Linked DNA regions of Homo sapiens: regions 1 and 2 are each linked to region 3. Evidence: promoter capture Hi-C in human tissues and cell types (Jung and others, 2019). All regions are on one chromosome and are shown on one strand. The core of a region is centred on a gene start or on the middle of the fragment in contact, and the rest is flanking DNA. Distances in the headings are between cores, read along the strand shown.

Region 1 (4,037 bases), core at 480-2,979, 190 kb after region 3:
AGACTGGCTGTGAGAGGATGAGGCGGGCCAGCATCAGTTGAGGGATTGTGCTAGATGATGTCTGCGCAGTCAAGGCAATCCATCTTCTCTGGCCCTCTCAACCCACAGAGTTGGTTGTCAGGGCAACTGGAGCATGGCCTGGGAGGGCACTTCAGCTCCGGGGGACAGACTCATGCAGGCCTAGGGCAGACAAGAATTGGAGGTGGGATGGGTGAAAGAGCCGAAGCAGATTGTTGGTACCCCCAGTAGAGTCGCAGTGGACACACCCAGTCCAGCCACTGACTCTGGGGTATGCACCCTGATGGGAACCCACCGGGACCTCTTTCAGGTGACCATGGCTGATCTGTGCTTGGTGCCTCAGGTGGCAAATGCTGAAAGGTAAGAGAGAGCCCCGCCACCCTCCCTTCTCGTGGCTCTGCCCACAGTCAGGCCCCACTCAGCTGGCGAGATAGCATCTCATGCAGACGCTTCGCCAACCAGCCAAGGAGCCCACCATGCCAGGCCACATAGCCACTTCTGCCTGGAAGAGGGCAGAAGAAATTGGGGCAGTGCTCCTACTACGCCCACCACAGCCCAGATGAACCTGTATAGATAGCCCCAGCTCCTAAGAGGAGGTGGCTCACCTGGTGGACCCCCAAGAGCACCTGCCTGATGTCCTCAAATGTGGTGTGTCTGTGAGCAGTAGTGAGCTCTACCTCTGCATCCTTCCGTGAACCCTTTGGTAGGGCACAAATGAGCACCTCTCTGGAAGGCATCATGCTAGGCGTTAGGGATATGGAAACGTATGGCACATTCCCTGCCCCCAAGAAGCTTACAACATGGGGGAAGAGAGTCTGTATATATAAATGCCTAGCACTGGGCCTTACACATAGCAGGTTCACAAAGAAATAGGAACAGTAGGTAACAGATGCCAAATGATACTGCACAAGACCTACCCATCCCCTGTGAATAAGGGCTGCCCCATCGTCCTTCCCTGGACAGCTCCCTCGACCTCATCCAGCCCTGCCTCTCTGCTCCCCCTGCTGCATCAGGGCAGTCTCCCTGTGTCCCTGAAAACCTTAGCTTAGCAGGTGTTTCTCTACTACAGATTCAAGGTGGATCTCACCCCCTACCCTACCATCAGCTCCATCAACAAGAGGCTGCTGGTCTTGGAGGCCTTCCAGGTGTCTCACCCCTGCCGGCAGCCAGATACACCCACTGAGCTGAGGGCCTAGCTCCCAAATCCTGCCCCGTTGGCACAGGGCCACAGGAGCAGAAGCTGGGTGGGCTGAAGAGGCCTGGAAACGAGAGTCTTAATTGAGGAGATGGGAGACTCGAACTCTAGCCCTGGATCTGCCTTCCTGCTGAAACTTGTTCCACCTCAGTCCCCTCATCTGTCACACGCATGTGGGGTGGAGTAGGGAGATGCGGGGAGCAGGGTGGGCAGGAATACTGTTATCTATGTGACGGGGCAGTCGTGAGGCTGAGATGAGAATGCGGATTAAAATGCCTGGCGTGCTCACCGTAACACCACGGGGAAGGCTGTGTGCCTTTTCTCATCCGCTTTTGTTGTGTGTGACTCCAAAGAATGCCCGCGCTGAAATTTGGCGTGAATTAAACTGAAGCCCAGGCCTCTACCTTGTTTGTCTAAGACTGAGCTAGGTTCCAGAAGATGAACACTGTCCCTAGCTGGAATCCCCTGTGCCTGGACCAGTAGAGGAAGTCAGTCAGCCACTTGCCTACCCTGTGGCAGGCCTGGCCCATGGGACCTAAGGGCAATGATGAGAAATATACCCAAAAGCCTGCCTGAAAGAATCAGACAAGATCCAGGGAGATAACAGATAGAAGCAGGAAAGCATCTAGTGACTGGCTGAGTTCTCAGGGCTAGGAATGGTACCGTTGTTAAATGTTCCACTCCAGGCTGGGCGCAGTGGCTCATGCCTATAATCCCTGCACTTTGGGAGGCCGAGGCAGGTGGATCACTTGAGGTCAGGAGTTCAAGACCAGCCTGGCCAACATGGTGAAACCCCGACTCTACTAAAAATACAAAAATTAGCCGGGTGTAGTGGCAGGTGCCTGTAGTCCCAGCTGAGGTGGGAGAATGGCTTGAACCTGGGAGGTGGAGGTTGCAGTGAGCCGAGATTGCACCAGTGCACTCCAGCTTGGGAGATAGAGTGAGACTCCATCTAAAAAAAAAAAACATATTCCACTCCAGCACTGAGAGGCCATTTGGCCCTCTCAACCAGTCCCTCGTCTTCAGGGCCAGCATTCTCCAGACCAGTCCCAGGATTAGGCACTCGGGGTAAATCCAGTCACAGATGGTGCTGGGAATGGGAGGCAGGCTCCCCCGTGGGCAGTGTGAGCAGCTACTGACCAGGCCAGCTTAGGAGACCAAGCAGGTAGCAGTGTACCACAGGCTGCCCTGGAGGGAGCAAGTTCCCATGCTTGGCAGTGTTCAGGCAGAACCAGGACCACCTCTGGGCAGAGATGCCGTACAGAGATTGGGGTAGCTTCTGGGGATGAAATGAGATGACTTTTTAGGAGCTTTACCTCTTGAAGGCCCCACCTCTGAATACTGTTGTATTGGAGATTAAGTTTCAACATGAATTTTAGAGGGGACATAAACATTTAAATCGTAGCAAAGACCATCACCTTTTTACAGGACATTTTCCAGTAGGGGCTTCTCTCAAACGGATGAGTGGTAAGTCAAGTCCTTCCTTTCCATATCACACTCAGCAGACACCTGATCCTGATATGCTAGAGGCACAGGGAGACTAGATATGTACGTGGTCTTCCCAGAGTGGGAGTGGCCACAGTGAAGGAAGAACAATGATGGAGGGGCCTGATACTGGTAATTCCAACTCTATGGAAGTAACAAGTCCCCAGAAATACTTCAGGAGGAGGAAAGCAGTAGGGAGGTGCTATCAGGAAATACCTGAGAACAAAGCAAAAATTATAGGCTGTGTTCCTCAGAAATTTTACATATCCATTAAGGAAAGTGGCAAACTTACTGGATAAACAGGTGATACACATACTCATACTATTTTTTTTTATTTTTATTTATTTATTTTTTTTTTGTGATGGAGTCTTGCTCTGTCATGCCCAGGCTGGAGTGCAGTGGTAAGAGCTCAGGTTCATTGCAACTTTCCACCTCCTGGGTTCAAGTGATTCTCCTGCCTCAGCCTCCCGAGTACTGGGATTACAGGCGCGTTGGTTAAGCTGGTCTCGAACTCCTGACCTCAGGTGATCTGCCCACTTCGGCCTCCCAAAGTGCTGGGATTACAGGCGTGAGCCACCACGCCTGGCCAAGATACGGCTCCTCCTAACTTTTAGTGTTTTGTTTTTGTTTTTTTTTTTTTTTTTGGAGACAGAGTCTCACTCTCTCGCCAGGCTGGAGTGCAGTGGAGCGATCTCGGTTCACTGCAACCTCCGCCTCCCAGGTTCAAGGGATTCTCCTGCCTCAGCCTCCCAAGTAGCTGGGACTGCAGGCCCACGCCACCACACCCAGCTAATTTTTGTATTTTTAGTAGAGACAGGGTTTCACCATGTTGGCCAGAATGGTCTTGATCTCTTGACCTTGTGATCCACCTGCCTCGGTCTCCCAAAGTGCTGGGATTACAGGTGTGAGCCACCACGCCCGGCCTAGATATTTTATTTAAAAAAAATTTTTTTAGAGATGGAGTCTCACTGTGTTGCCCAGGCTGATCTTGATCCTCCCGCCTCAGCCTCCCAAGTAGCTGGGCCAGCTCTTACTTCTAAACATAACTTATTTAGCTCTTGCTTCCAAGGTCACAGCAATTCTACTTTCAGAGAATACTTTGAACTAAGGATAGCTGCTGAGTTTAAGCCAGAAGTGCACAGGTTAAAGAACATCAAGGCTGAATGTCAAGAGCTGTAATGTGTGAGCTGCCTTTTGTAATCCTGAGCTATGTCAAGGTCAATGATATGACACATATGAATGCTTTTAAAAGTTAAAAAATAATCTTAAGGCCAGGTGCGGTGGCTCACACCTGTAATCCTAGCACTTTGGGAGGCTGAGGCGGGTGGATTGCCTGAGC
Region 2 (4,339 bases), core at 327-2,826, 230 kb after region 3:
AATCCTGAGCTCAGGTGATCCGCCTTCCTCAGCCTCCCAGAGTACTGGGATTACAGGCATGGGCCACCGCACCCAGCCAGTTTGTTCACTGTCATTGCTGTACGTTATTCCATGAATCCACCATGAGCTATCTATCTATTGTTGATGATACTTAGGTTAACTCCAGTTTGGGGCTATTATGAATAATGCTGCTATGAATATTCTTGTGTCTTGGCTACAGTGCATACATTTATGTTGGATATAAATGTCAGAATGGAAACGGTTAAGTCATAGAAATTTGAATGTTAAATTTCAGTAGATAATGCCGAACTATTTTCTAAAGGGGTTGTACCAAATATAATGCTACCAGCATTGTAGCATCATTTCATTACTCTGGACCTTCTCTGACACTTGGTCATGTTAAAATTTTTTTGGGGGGCCATTCTGGTAGATGTATGCTAATTTAGTTTGTATTTCACCAATGACTCGTATTTCTTGGCCATTTAAAAATCTTCTTTTGTGAAGTGCCTCTCCAAGTCTCTTGCCAATTTTATTACTGGATTGTCCTTTTTATTATTTATTTATTTATTTATTTATTTTTGAGACGGAGTCTCACTCTGTCACCCAAGTTGGAGTGCAGTGGCATGGTCTCGGCTCACTGCAACCTCCGCCTCCTGGGTTCAAGAGATTCTTCGGCCTCAGCCTCCCTAGTAGCTGGGACTACAGGCACGTGCCACCACACCCAGCTAATTTTTGTATTTTAGTAGAGACAGGGTTTCACCATATTGGCCAGGCTGTTCTCGAACTCCTGACCTCATGATCCGCCCACCTTGGCCTCCCAAAGTGCTGGGATTACAGGCATGAGCCACCAAGCCCAGTCCCTTTTTATTATTTATAGGAGTTTTAGATACAAACCTTTTGTCAGGTATATGTATTATAATTACCTGCTTCCACTCTGTGACATGACTTTTCCCATTTAATGGTGGCCTTTGATGAACCAAAGTACTTTTGTGTACTCAAAATTTATCAAATTTGCCTTCCTTAGTCTTTGTATGTCCTGTCTAAGATGTCTTTCACTATATTGAGATCCGAAAATATTCTCCCATATCCTATAGGTAGGTGCTTATGTACTACCTTTCACATACTGTTCTATAATCTACCGAGTTGATTTTTTGTGTATGATGTGTGAGGTAAAGATTACGTTTCTTTACTTTCCTTTCTCTTAGAATATTCAATTGTCCCAGAAACATTTACCTTACCTTACCCACTGCTCTATGTTAACAATCTTTGTTGCAAAGCAAGTGTCCGTATAAACATGTTTCTAAGCTTTTGATTCTATTCCTAGAGCCTGACTACTCTTTAAAAACTTTAAAATAAGTCTTGATGTTGGATGGAACAAATCTTTCCCTGTTGTCTTATTCAAGAGTGTCTTTGCTATTTGTGGCCTTCTATTTCTATATGTATTTTAGAACCAGCTTGTCAAAGCCACCCAAAAATCCCAATTCATGAACTTAGCTGTTTCTGAAGCTGAGTTGCACTCCCTGCAATGACCTACTTTTAGGGCATGGCCTTTCATGGCCCTAACCCAAAGGAAATGGAGTTCACCAGGCTCCCCCTTGACGGGTCCTGAACACTAATCCATTTCCTGTTACTTTAGTTCAAAGAGGCACTTTTCATGACCTTGTCACTCAGCTTCCCCACTCAGGAATCCAGCATGTACCCTCAGGAGACAAAAGAGCCCCAAAATAGACTCTTGTCCTTGGATCTCTATAGCTCTCACATGGATCACAGCTAGGTAATTCTTCATGATCTTTCTATCTCTCCAGTATCTTCCAGCAGATGTTTATATTTCACCCATATTTTCTAATTGTCCCTGATGAGAGATAATTACCTAGTCTGCTATTACTGAAAACAGAAATCCATATTGCCTATTTACCCATATCAATCTGAATATACCTTAGTGAATAAAATAGAAACAAAAATAGTTCTGCCCTCTGCCAGGCACGGTGGCTCATGCCTGTAAGGGAGGCGGAGGCGGGAGGGCCGAGGCGGGCAGATCACAAGGTCAGGAGTTCGAGACCAACCTGGCCAGCATGGTGAAACCCCATCTCTACTAAAAATACAAAAATTAGCCGGGCGTGGTGGCACATGCCTGTAATCCCAGCTACTCGGGAGGCTGAGGCAGGAGAATCGCTTGAACCCAGAAGGCGGAGGTTGCAGTGAGCCGAGATCACACCACTGCACTCCAGTCAAGGCGACAGAGCGAGACTCCGTTTCAAAAAAAAAAAAAAAAAAAAAATTCTGCCCTCTCTCTGTCATTGATTAATAATATCAGTTTATCTACTATGTCTATCCCCCTTTGGCTTATCCTGTCCTTTGGATCGTAATGAAGACTTCAAAAAGGTTAAATTTTTAGACAGAAATGAAACTAGCACAAAAATAATGAAAGACAGTAGTGGATTTAAAGAATAACAAAATTAATCTCTAAGGAGACTTATAACCTTTTATAAAAAAATTCACTGAGAGAAAAAGGTCTAGAAAATGTCAGTTCCTGATGAGCAGAAACAGAATACAGACCTATAGAAAGGCTCTTATTTAGGATATAGACATAGTGAAGTCTCATGCCAAGTTTGTGTGTGTGTCTATCTATGTACACATATATTTATATATTTTAAAGACTATTTTTATTAACTATTTCTGAATAATTTATCCACATTATTCAAAATTCAAAAAGCATATAAGTATACAGTGAAAAATTTCCTCCCATGTCAGTCCCTACCTCCAAAAGCAATCAATGTTATTTGGTTTTGTGTAGTCTTCCAAAGATGTTTTATGCATATAAAAAAAAGTGTGTGTGTGTGTGTGTGTGTGTATACTTTTTCACTTTTTTACACAAAAAATGGGCATGCTTAGGCGTGGTGGTGCGTGCCTGTAATCCCAGCTACTTGAGAGGCTGATGCAGGAGAATCGCTTGAACCCGGGAGGCGGAGGTTGCAGTGAGCTAAGATCACGCCATTGCACTCCAGCCTGGGCAACAGTGCGAGACTCTGTCTCAGAAAAAAAAAAAGGTCGGGGGGAGCATGCTGGACATACTACTGTGTACTTTGTTCTTTCCACTTATATCTCAAAGACCTTTCCATAACTGCACATGAAAAGCTTCTTCATTCTTTTCTACAGCTGATTAGTATTTCATTGGGTGAATATTCCATAATGTATTACCATTACAAACAATGCCATAATAACCTTGTATCTATGTCATTAAACAGGAGAATAAATAAATCTATAATTCCTGGAAAGAATGAGTCAAAGGGGCATATATTGTAATTCTGATGGATATTGACAAGTTGCCCTCCACAGAATCTGTACCAATTTACAATCTCATTAGCAAAGCATGAGAGTGTCTGCTTCTGCACACCGACCAACAAAGTGAGTTAGCAAACTACCAAGTGTAGTTAGGATTTCCAATTCCCTTATTATGATTTAGGTTGAGCATTTTTCACATGGTAAGCACCACTTCTCATAGCATTTTAACAACTTAATGTATACTGGAAAAAAATATGCTTTTGATTTTTTTTCTTTCCATCCCATAAGGAGTTGAGCTTTTGATTTTTAACTTTAAAGGAATGCCCTAAATTATTTTTAATTTTAAAGAATGCCCTAAATTACATAAGAACTACTGGTAAAACAACTTATAATTGGATTCAGAGAGGCAGGAAGTAAGAAAAGGAGAAAGAAAAACATAACTTTATTTCCAGAAGTATAAAGTGTGGGAGATGCAGCGCTGTTTCAGTGAGAGAGAATTATGAGCACAGCCTTTTAGGTTTCCTGAAGTTCTTCAGTGAAATTTAAGCCACTATGCAGAAGAAAAAGCCAATTTTCCTATAGTATAGCTTTTATTATATTAGCCAAATATAAGCCAATTCTGAAAGTATTCCTAGAAGAGATCAGAGAAATCAGGCCAGACTTTGCAAATTTAGATGGTATGTGGGGAAATGTTTTTTATTTTTAAAAATATGTATTCTAGTATATATTAAGAAAAATGGATATATCAAACTAGTAATATCGTAGGTATTATTTAGAATGAAACTTTTAAGTGTCAATCAAAATGTCAATTAAATGTCAATGTCAAGAAAAAATAGTAAATAACTAATACTGTAACGGTATTCTCCAGTGTGGCAAAGTCATTACCATGGTTCCTCAGTGGCCGAAATCTCGGAAACAATGAACGGAGGAGGAAAAATGGAAGCTTAACAATAACTTAATTTATCATTGATGGCCACTAAAGCAAAGGTGAGAGAGAAAAAAGGAACTTCCTTAAAATAACTTATTTTATATTTGACAACTTTTTAAATGTGCATTT
Region 3 (3,955 bases), core at 1,262-3,761:
GGAAAGGACAGCGGAGATGTAGGCCACGCCGGCCACCATGGAGTAGAGGCAGGCCAGGGAGGTGTAGAGGCAGAACAGGACGAAGTTGCGCATGTTCCTGCTGCCGATGCAGTTGCCGGTGAAGAAACAGTGATGGTCGTGCCTCAGGGTGACTCTGGCGCACACTCGGCAGAAGTGGGTGCTAGGTGAGGGGCATGGAGTCTTCCTGGCCGAGGCCCCCTGGCAGGCCCCCAGGTCGTCTGGGGAGTTCTGGATGACAAGGACGTAATTGCCCAGGGCGTTGGCCGAGAGGAATAGGAAGAGCGCCCCGTGGAGCAGGGCGGGCGAGAAGAGCCGGGCGGCCGCGGGGTCCTCGCGCATGCTGGGCAGGAAGAGGAAGAGCTGCAGCACGAAGGTCACCAGGGAGATGCACAAGAAGTAGGCGGGGGCCACCACGTTGAGCAGCCGCAGGGCCAGCATCCTCGATTACATTCCTGCGGGGCCCGGGGTGAGAAGAGGACTGACTGACTACGGCGTCCAGGGGGCGCCCTCGCCCGCTCCTCCGTGCCGCGCGTCTGGGGCACTGCACGCGACTCCACGCCCCCAACCCCCTGTCCCGCGGATTTCCCCTCCCCAGTTCCCTAACCCCGGATCAGGCAGGCCAGAGACCCGAGCCCGCAGCGGCCTCGGGTCTAGGCCCCACCTGGGGGTGAGTGTTGCCTGGGGTTTTGAGCGAGCTCGGCGCCTTGGCGCGGCAGAGTCTGGCACAGGAGGGAGGGACTCGTTTGCAGTCTTTAGGAGTTGTGAGGGTGGGGGGCACCGGGGGATAGGACTCCTCCCCTCTGTGGATGTGGAAACAAGCCCAGGTTTGGGATTTCTGGTTCAGACCTCCCTAGGAGGAGAAAGGGAAGGATTTGGGGTCGGGGGCAGGAGAATCAGCGGCACTTGACCTGCTGGAAATCCTGCTTCACACTCCCCTTTCTCCGTCCCTGCGTCCCCACCCACACACACATCTTGGGCAGCACTCAGGGACCTCACCAGGTTACCCAAGGCTCTTTGGAGGTATGTGTGCGTGAGGGACCACGATGTGTGTGTGTGTGTCCTTGTCTGTGACTCTGTACGTGTAATCTGTGTGCGCTTGAGTATCTGTATTTGTGTATGTATATATCTGCGTGTACAGACACGCAGCCTCTGCTATCTAGCTTTAAAAAAATCAATTGAAACAATCGATACACTCACACTCGCTCTCGGGCACCGGGTGAGGTGGGGGCGCAACCAGAATACCTGTGTCAGCGGGTCCTGGCCAGCACATCTCTCCAACGCTGGCTGCCCGGGCTATTTCTTTGCGAAGAGCGTTTTCATTTGAGGCGAAATTAAAATCCCCCCTTCGCGCCCGCCTCCCGCCCTCCTGCTGAGAGAAACCCAAACAACCCTCATGGCGCCGAAATCCTTTCCATGCCGACAAGCCCGCCCTGGGCGCACGAGTGGATGCTTGGCCAGCCTTTCCTGGGATCGACCCCGCCGCCGTGCTCAGCCCTCACCACGTCCCCATCCCACCCCACGCCTCACAGCCGGGGTTCCTGGCCAGCTTCGGAAGCCACCGAGAAATAGGATTCCGTGCGCCCGAGAGAACTTTTCCAGGGGCTAAGGAATCGGCCAGCCGGAGGCGCGAGAAAAGTTCTGGGAAGGCGGTTGCACCTAGGATGGGTGGATGCCACGGGGCCTCCGTCCAGGCTGTCCCGTCCGCACGGGTCGACTGGTCACCTTGGAATCCCCTTTGCAGGTCCCAGCGCCCCCCGGGAACCCGCAGCCTCCGCGGAGAGCGTGGGCCTCTCCCTACCGCTGGGGCGCAGCGCAGTGCACGCCTGAGGGTGGTCGCCGGGGGCTGGGCACGCCCCCAGTCCTGCGCCGCCGGGGGCTGCGGCGGTGCTGCCCACCCCAGAGAGCCCTCGGCCTGGGGCTCCGGCGAAGCAAGTGCCTTCCCGGCGCCGGTCGCCAGGGGGGCGCGGGAGCAGCCAGATGCGCCGCAGCGCTGGGAAGGCGGCGAAGGACAGGGGCTAGGGGAGTGAGGGGCGCTCGGCAGGCAGCCTCAGCCCTGGCCCTGCGCGGGAGAAGGGACAGCAGAGACCGCCCGTGGGGCCCCGGGGTGTAGGGAGCTGTCCGTTCAGCCCTGGCGCCCGCCTCGCCCGCGGCAGAGGGCGGCACAGCCGGAGCCTTGGAAAGACCGGCAGCGCCGGCAGCCGCGGGCTTCTCGGCCACTGCCTCCCGGACGCACGGGAAGCCGCCCCCCGCGCCGCCGCCGCCGCACTGCCGCCGTCGCAGAGGGGTGAGGAAATCAACTCACCGAGCTCTGGTCGCCGACAAGAGGAGCCCCGGACGCCGGCTCTCGCCCTGCCCGAGGCTGCAAAGTTGTGGACTCGGCCCGGCTGGCTCGCAGCCTGCGCTTCGCTTCGGGAACTGGGCAAGTAGCGGGGATGTGGGGAGGAGGGAGCGGGCAGCTGCTGGCTTCCCACTTGGGCGCCAGCGAGTAAGGGCCAGGAAGCGGCGGGGATGGCAGCTGGGCACCCCCCAGCCCCGCCACCCCTCCCTCCGCTCCTGGGGGCGGTGCTCTGGCCGCCAGTCTCAGCATCGTGGACTTGCCCCCTCCTCCCCTCTCGATTCCCCTTGAGCGGGCTGGGGCGCCCTGCCTGGTTTCAGCGCCCGTTCCAGCTGGGAGATTGGGATTCAGCCCTGATGTGGATTCTCCAGCCATCATCCTGCCCTTCCCTCTCGGCTAGGTCCCACGACCTTCCCTGCTCTCCACTCGGACTGAAGGAACCCTGGGGGCTTGAGAGGTCAGCTTGCCAGGGCAACACCCATGAAGATCAGCGTCATCTCCTCGGAAGGGCTGTGTACAGAGGGTTGGGAGTTGGGACTCTGGAGCCTGTCTACCTGGGTTTGAATATTCACCATTCACTACTGTGAGATCTCAGATTCCAGTTTCTTCGTCTGTAAATTCCAGTGTGATCTTAGATTCCAGTTTCCTCATCTGTGAAATAGAGATATGAGGGTTAAATGACAATCTATGTAAAACCCTTAAACAGGGCCTGCCCAGGGCAAGCACTGCTTGATTAGATCATAATTAGACACTACTTATCGGGCCCCTACTAGGTAGCAGGCATTGTGCTAAGCCTTTAGCATAAGATGCTTCCTTAATCCTCTCAGCCTGATCTGTGAAGCTGGCTGAGCCCCATTCTGGAGATGAGGAGGTTGAAGCTCAGAGAAGCTAAGTCTCATGTCTAAGGTCATACAGCCATTAAGTGACAGAGCCTGGACTTGAACCTGGTTCTAGCATTAATGCTCCTGCACTCAGCCTCTACACAGCCCAGCATCACCCTGGGACCCACGGGCAGCTCTGATTTGAGAGAAGGAAAGACAATGGGAGTTTATCCAGACACAGAGCTTGAACTTGGAGCTTCTTCTTTGAGCCTCACCCCCACCTTCTTATTTCTATTTCCTTCCCCTTCCAGGGCTCCGCTATTCTAAGGTGGGTACTGTGATGCGCCAAGAGGGTAGTGACACCAATGTGTATCAAACAGTGGGGGGTGGGGGGAGCAGAGCCTTAAAAACATCAAACACTGCAGGAATATTGGTGCCATCACCATCCTCAATTTCCTGGGTGTCGCAGCTCACCTACCTGCCCTGTTCCTCTCCTCTCGGTGATGGCATACTTAATAAATAAACATTTATTGCTTTCTCAACTGGCTGATTAAAACAAGAGCAATCCCTTGAAATGAGGGCCATATGCTGATCAGCTCAGCCTCTATTCTTGAATAACCACACACTGTTTCCTCTGTAATTTATCAGCATACATCAAAATAAAAAAGAGGCCAGGAAACCTTTTCACATTCTAAAAGGATCTGACATGTAAGTGAAAGAACAGTATATGCCACATGGTGGCCGTGAGCAGCTGGTAGCCTTGTGAGTTCCAGTGGCC

The links. Contacts are between HindIII fragments. The study calls those that stand out against the background at their distance.
Region 1: a fragment that was not itself captured here is called in contact with the fragment with the promoter of ZDHHC22 in region 3 in 1 of the 25 tissues and cell types used here (dorsolateral prefrontal cortex).
Region 2: a fragment that was not itself captured here is called in contact with the fragment with the promoter of ZDHHC22 in region 3 in 2 of the 25 tissues and cell types used here (H1 embryonic stem cells and dorsolateral prefrontal cortex).

Annotation. Positions count from the first base shown.
Region 1 is chr14:77,329,982-77,334,018 of GRCh38, forward strand. It overlaps GSTZ1 (glutathione S-transferase zeta 1), which reads left to right. Exons shown (of 9, transcript NM_145870.3): 8 at 329-378; 9 at 1,088-1,616. The coding sequence ends at 1,214. Among named protein-coding and RNA genes, the nearest start is that of GSTZ1, 11 kb to the left of the region's middle. RefSeq lists an enhancer at 1-820. The HindIII fragment of the contact is 8,017 bases long and covers 1-4,037 here.
Region 2 is chr14:77,367,916-77,372,254 of GRCh38, forward strand. The region is part of intron 1 of TMED8 (transmembrane p24 trafficking protein family member 8); the gene reads right to left. Among named protein-coding and RNA genes, the nearest start is that of TMED8, 7.0 kb to the right of the region's middle. The HindIII fragment of the contact is 7,125 bases long and covers 1-4,339 here.
Region 3 is chr14:77,139,280-77,143,234 of GRCh38, forward strand. It overlaps ZDHHC22 (zDHHC palmitoyltransferase 22), which reads right to left and starts at 2,512. Exons shown (of 3, transcript NM_174976.2): 1 at 2,324-2,512; 2 at 1-473. The coding sequence starts at 459. RefSeq lists enhancers at 216-765, 903-1,466, 1,467-2,030, 2,125-2,626. The HindIII fragment of the contact is 26,670 bases long and covers 1-3,955 here.